Linked DNA regions of Homo sapiens: region 1 is linked to region 2. The links are contacts of gene promoters, found by promoter capture Hi-C in blood cells and fetal thymus (Javierre and others, 2016). All regions are on one chromosome and are shown on one strand. The core of a region is centred on a gene start or on the middle of the fragment in contact, and the rest is flanking DNA. Distances in the headings are between cores, read along the strand shown.

Region 1 (3,390 bases), core at 853-3,352, 220 kb before region 2:
ACACCAAGAGTGCACTAATTTAAACTATGGACTTTGGGTGATAATGATGTGCCAATATTGCTTCATCCATTGTAATAAGCGTACCACTCTGGTGTGGGATGTTAATAGTGGATAGGCTGTGTGTGTGTGTGTGTGTGTGTCTGTGTGTGTGTGTGTCTGTGTGTGTGTGTGTGTATGTTAGGGGTTGGGGAACAGGAGATATACAGGAACTCTGTACTTTGTGCTCAATTTTGCTATAAACCTAAAACTGTTCTAAAAATAAAGTCTATTAATTAAGGGAAAAAAGCCACCCTTTAACTTCCTTCTAACTATTCCCTGCCCCTTTACAAGCAAACATATTAGGAGGCTTACCCGTGTTACTATTAACATCCTACACCAGAGTGGTACATTTGTTACAATGGATGAACAAATATAGGCATATTATTATCACCTGAAGTCCACAGTTTACATTAGGGTACTCTTAGTGTGGTACATTCTATGGATTTTGACATGTATGTAACATGCCATGCCACAAATCTCCAATTTCTCACTTCCCATTTATCGAGGTGCATATCAATACGGCTTTTACCCCTATTACTCTACCCAATCTATTTTCTAAGGTCACCCATGGCTCCGTTGTCACTGAATCCAATGGATACTTTTTCAACAGCCCACGAAGTTGACCATTTGGTTCCTTCAGGAACTACTCTCTTCCTTCCTTTGGTTTCCAGGATGTAACACTAATCTGACTTTCCTCCTACCTCTCTAGCCATTCTTTTTCTCTCCCTTTGCAGGCCCATCCTTCTATACCAAGCCTTTAATTGTTAAAGTTCCTCAAGGCTCAGTCCTAGGCCCTTTCCTCTTCTGAACGCTCTCCTTAGGGGATTTTTCCTCCACTCACAAGGATGCAATTATCTATACTCACACTTGGCAAATTTCTATCTCTAGCCAAGATCTCTATTCTGAGAACAAGAACCATATAATCAATCCATCTGCTTCTCTGATATCCCCACTTAGCTAGCTCATAGGTACCTCAAACTTGATCTTTCAAACTTAACTCATCAACTTTCCCCATAAGCTTACTTTACCTCTCCTGTTATCTAAGCAAGTGGCACCCTCCGTCACCCATTTGGATACGCCAGAAACCTTGGAGTCATCTCCAATATCTCTTTTCCCTTATCCCTATATTGGATGCACCTACTAAGTCCCATCAATTCTATCTTCAAACACTCTCTCAAATTTGTCTACTTCTGCTCATCTCCGTAGTTACAACTCTAGTCCAAGCCTTCTATCACTACTAACCAGGATTCCTGCAACAAGCCATTCTCTTTGCTTAAAACCCTCAATTACCTCTTGCTGTTCTTAGGATAATATTCAAAATCCCTACCATTGTGGCCCATGTATTCTTCTCCCAACCTCATATGCCACTCTACCTATCATTTTTGTTTGTTTGAATAAGAGACAGGGTCTCACTCTGTTGCCTAGGCTGGAGTGCAGTGGCATGATTGTAGCTCCCTGCAGCCTTGAAATTCTGGGCTCAAGTAATCCTCCTGCCTCAGCCTCCCGAGTAGCTGGGACTACAGGTGCACACCATACTCAGCTAATTTTTAAAATTTTTGTAGAGAGAGGGTCTCGCTATGTTGTCCAGGCTGGTCTTAAACTCCTGGCCTCAAGCCATCTCCTCACTGGAGCCTCCCAAAATGCTGGGATTACAGGCATGAACCACCATGCCTGCCTCTATCTATCTTTTACTTACATAGCTTTCTATCAATTCCTTGGAAGCATCAAGTTCCTTCCTGTCTAAGTCTTCAAAGATCCTGTTCCTTCTGCATAGAATGTGCCTCCAATCCTCTTTAGTCTTTTAAGACTTAATTTAAATGAAATTTCCTCATAGGTCCCCCCAAACATTTGCTCATGGCACTCTAATTTCTCATTCATGGCATTTATTACAATTGTAACCTATTAATTGTGCAACTATTTATTTAATGTACATCTCTCATATTAGACTTCAAGCTCTTTGGGGCAGAGACCCATCTAATTTATCCCTATATCTCCAATTACCTAACAGGCCTGGAAAATAGTAGCTGAAATATATTTACTAGCTTGTATATAATTCCGGAAGGACTCTGTCCTCAGTTAACTGTCACCATTGATAGGGGAGATATTTTTTTTATCAGAAATGCTTTCTTTTTATTTTGGAGACCAAGTCTTGCTCTGTCACCCAGGCTGGAGTGCAAATGGCGTAATCTCAGTTCACTGCAACCTCCGCCTCCTGGGTTCAAGCAATTCTCCCGCTTCAGCCTCCTGAGTAGCTGGGATTACAGATGTGTGCCACCATACCCAGCTAATTTTTGTATTTTTAGTAGAGACGGGGTTTCACCATGTTGGCCAGGCTGGTCTCCAACTCCTGACCTCAGGTGATCCACCAGCCTTGGCCTCCCAAAGTGCTGGGATTACAGGAGTGAGCCACCGTGCCAGCCCAGAAATGCTTTCTTATATGTTTCGAATCATTTTATAGGCAACTTATCTAAGCCCATCACCACTAACAGGTAAATACATACAGTTCCTGGGACGGGCATTCTAATAACCTAGTGACATAATGATAGTTATAAACTCCATATAGATTTTTAAAATTGCTTTTCAAATTCACAGTCCATTTTTTCCTGAAGCAAAACTGATGACATAGGTTTTAGGTATTTAATATTCAATAATATTTTATTTGTGATGGGAAAATTGAATTGCTATATTATGCAATTATTCTCAAATTTAATATTTCAAAACAGCTCATTTTATATAAAGCTAACATGGCAGAATGAATTATATATTAATAGCATTTATCATATTAAGTATTAGCAAAGTAAGTATTGAGCCACAGATGGCAAATGACCAAGACATTACCATAGATATTAATTCATCTTTGTTCTGGAGACTAGTGCAGTACAATTCTTTTTTTTTTTTTTTTAGTGCAGTACAATTCTTAAAAGACAGTCCCTGAAATACAATCCTATAACCTCCCATCATAAACCATGATCGTAAAGGAGAACATATGTTTCCCATTAGAACAATGGAATAATTGGAAGTTCTGTTTCTGACAAAGCACTCAAAATCAACTAAATTTGAGCTAGATCAATGTGATAAAAGCCAGAAATCAATAAATATAAAGCTTTAATACTTTAAATTATAAAATTATTCTTTCAAGGTCCACAATGAGTATAAACACACTATATATAAAAATGATACAAGCCCCCCGCCCATTGTTCTATAGACGTACACATCGAATCCCAAATTCAAATTAATTGTAGCACAAATCTGAAGTTATAATAATGCTGCCAGTTACAGTAAAAGAAAAGTTGTCTTGAAAAGTATGAATTTAGATCTCTATTAAGTGTCACAGTGCTAAAACATGGCCAA
Region 2 (3,484 bases), core at 263-2,762:
TGGGTAAAATGTCAATTTTATTCTTAAAGGTGTTCAAATCCAAACTACTTGAGATTGCTGCTTTATATGGCATAATTAAATCTAGAGGTCAATACAGAAGAATCCCTTCACCCCTTTTCAAGGCAGAGGAAAGCTCAAAGTGGGTCTATTTTGAGGGGAATATTTTGCTGGGCATTCACCGTTTTTCTTTGAATCCATCATAAACTCAAAATAGTGTCAAGAATTTAAAGTTGTGATGAGAATCCTTAGGCTCACGAAAGATAACAAGTTCTCCCTCCCTTTGGCCAGTTTCCATACCTTTCTTACACATTCTGACAGAACATCTGGGCTTTCGTGTAGGCATGTATTCTATATCATATTTACATACATGCGTATATACGCACACCGGCCAGTCTGTTTGGTCATAAATGATGTGACTGGGGGATAGGAGTTGTGGCTCCTTTATTTTGCAGAATGCCTAAGTATTGTTTGTCTCACAATACTGGGAGCGAGCAGGAGCCCGGTGGGAGCCTGGAGCCTTAAGCCCTGGGCTGTGGTCTGGGGGAGGGGACGGGGTTGCGGGGTCACAAGCTCTTTGCTTTTAGCCTCAGCATGACCACAAGTTTTAAAGCATGAAGGGATCACGTGCTTTTCTTTGAGCTGTTAGTTATTCTGACTTTTGGGGGGGGTGTGTGTGAAATGCTTTGTTCTTTAGATTTTTTTGATTCTCTAGGTATTTTGGCCGATGATTAAATTTTTTTTCCAAAAGAAAGAGACAAAAATAAATCATTTGGTGTATCAAAATGTCCTAGTTTCTCATAACCTATATCTTGTACTTAGTTAGTTTTACCTTGTGCTAGACAGGTACTGAGATGGAATAAATTATTTTCGCCAGTTGGGAACTTGATCCAGACATTCTATATGTTGCAAACCCTTAAAAAAAATTAAGAACAAGAAAATATCCTGGTAAAGCAATCTCAAAATACCTTATTCCGGGTATTGTTCTAGCTTTAAAGGGAAGGAGGACTGGGAGGAGGGGTGGGAGATGGGGGGTGGCGAATAGGAAGACTGGGAGGATGTCTTGTTTAATGAACTGCTAAAACTTTTGGAAAATTTTAAGCTAGTGAAGTCCCTCAACACGGTATTTCCATTTGAAAACCTTTACTTAAATATGTCACTCTTGGGGAGTTACTTCTACTTGTTCCCTTTAATAGGATGATTTCATCTTTTCCAACCTTCTTCTGTCTCTCCAACCAAGACACATAGACTCCGAATACCAAATAAAGACTTTTGAAGATAATGAGATTTATTTGGGAACATTTTCCAAAATCAGGGTAATGGGTTTTTTTGTTCTGATGTTGAAGAGGATGAGGATATGTTTACTCATTGACCCGGGAGCTCTGGCTGCAGCTGTAGGACACAATTAATTATGCTAATAGTTTGTGAGGAGCGGATGTAGCTCCCCCAACCCCCCTTTTTTCGAGGGGAGGGGAGTTTGGCAAAAGGGGAAGGAGACGCCCTGGGGTCGGATCACATGATATTATCTTCGCGCCACTTTCGCAAAAACCCTTTTTTTTACTCCAGGTTTTGCTCCAGCTCAAAGGTACTGTTCTTATCTTGCTTTAATACAACGCTTCTTAAAGTCGGGTCTAAGTTCTCTTCCCTCCCCCTCCTCTTCTTTCCACTGCTAGTCGTTACCATTAAAGGTCGAAAGTTGCATTGCAGTCGGTGCAATCTCACAGGAGGGATCTGGTTGGGTAGTAAACTTCGGGCTGCGTAGTTTCCAGAAAGTATCACGCAGACGTGCCAGGGTAGGCTGCAAGGTCTGTTGCATGAAAAAGGGGAGGAAGCCCACCTGTGCGAGTGACTCGCGTTGGAGAAATGATTGTGGTTTTCGTTGCATCCACCGCTGACTCCTGAGGGGCGCTGGCAGTTCAGGTTGGACTCTTTCGCGGGCCAGGGGCGGGAGAGGCCAGTCTTTTGTAATGTTTGCCTGAGCTACTACTGTGCACCAGTGCACCAGGTTGAGAATCACATGGCGCCCTTGTCCTCTTCTGGGCTTTGGGCTGCCACAATCACCCTGGTAACAATGGTGGAAAGGGAGGGGTCCGGCTTCATTTTGCACCCCTTCCCTCCTTCCTTGCCCCCCGCTTGCCTTCCAGGGCTTTCCTCCTCCGACCCAGCGTGCTCACTGGTCTCTGATTTGTAACCTCGTACCCTGCACACCCCCGCCCACCCCCCCAACCCCCGCACGCTCCCCAAATCCCATCTTGCGCCTGTGTCCGCCAGGGACGCGGAGAAGGTATATAGCCCGGTTGTCTCTCATTTTGCCCGGTGTTCAAAGTCTGGTATGCTTAATTCCATTTTGATTGTGCGTCTTAAACTAAGACATCATTTTATTCTACAGAGCGCTGTCGGGCTTTGGCCTTGAAGCAGCCCGCCCTCAATTGGTTCTCATTAGCGGTGGAATGAGAGGAGAAAGCAAGATAATTGCACCGTATCTTCCGCACATTTGCGCGTGTATTCGGTGGCTGCTACCGTTAACGATACCTGCCAAGAAACCCTGATTTAGTGGGTGAAGAGGGCGCCTGGCAAGGGCGAAAGCCTCCCAACAGTAGCACAAGGTGCTAGGGGTTAAAACTTTCACATGTGCAGAGAGTAAGTCGTGTTTCTATTTCTTCCCTCCTCGGGCCTTAGGAACACTTTCAATCTAGCGGCGAGGTGGCGCGCATGCGCGCGCCGGGTGGGGGACACCCCTGTCCCACGGCTCCGTGGGCCTCGTCGTCTGTCTCCGGTGGGGGGCTGAGGCGAGCGCCGCGGGAGCGAGATGGGACAAGGTGGTAGTGAGTGCGCCATCCTGGCCCGGATGCCGGTGGCACCCGCACCGGCTCCGGCCACGGCCTCTGCCTGGGCCGCTGTCCCAGGCGCGCCTTTAATTAAGGACTCCAGCTTGGGGGAAGAGAGAAGGGAAAATGCCGACTGCGGTCCGCCCGTGGGTAACTGGGGCTCGGTGGGGTTTTCGCTTTGGCGGGGTGGGGGTTCCGTTTCCTAATTCCTGTGCGGGCCGGGTGGGCGGGGGCGGGCTTTTTTCCTTGGGCTATTAAAGGCAGAGGGGCGGGCTTTTCCCAGGGATATAGCTACGGACAGAGGGCCAAGGGGACGGAGCGCTCCTCAAGTGGTGGCAGGGAGGCTCGTGGCCCCGCGTCGCTCTGGACAGGGGCGCTTTGGGGTGAGATGTGCGCTCGCGGCCTTGATCCATTTAGTGGACGCTTTTTCTCACTTCTCTTCCCCTTCTGGCTCCGCGGGAGACTGCGCTCGCACCCGGCCCCGGAGCGCTCGAGCTGCGCGCTGGGACACTGGGTATACGTGTGGAGGGGACACCCGGAGAGGGCGGCCCGTGCGGGATCCCCGCGCTCTCCACCTGCGAGGGGCGGGCCGGAGCTGGGTCCCGCGCGCGGTTTCCCGAGCGGGTGGCTGGGCAAGAAGGGAGCCCTTCGTTGGGGCA

The links. Contacts are between HindIII fragments. The CHiCAGO score rates a contact against its expected background, and 5 or more counts as called.
Region 1: a fragment that was not itself captured here is called in contact with the fragment with the promoter of MIR106AHG in region 2 in 1 of 17 cell types (activated CD4 T cells); the score reaches 5.3 in activated CD4 T cells.

Annotation. Positions count from the first base shown.
Region 1 is chrX:134,396,437-134,399,826 of GRCh38, reverse strand. All of the region lies in intron 5 of PHF6 (PHD finger protein 6), which reads right to left. Among named protein-coding and RNA genes, the nearest start is that of PHF6, 25 kb to the right of the region's middle. The HindIII fragment of the contact is 2,085 bases long and covers 1,060-3,144 here.
Region 2 is chrX:134,172,116-134,175,599 of GRCh38, reverse strand. It overlaps MIR106AHG (miR-106a-363 cluster host gene), which reads left to right and starts at 1,512. Exons shown (of 2, transcript XR_007068340.1): 1 at 1,512-3,484. RefSeq lists a silencer at 387-681 and an enhancer at 2,640-3,447. The HindIII fragment of the contact is 10,100 bases long and covers 1-3,484 here.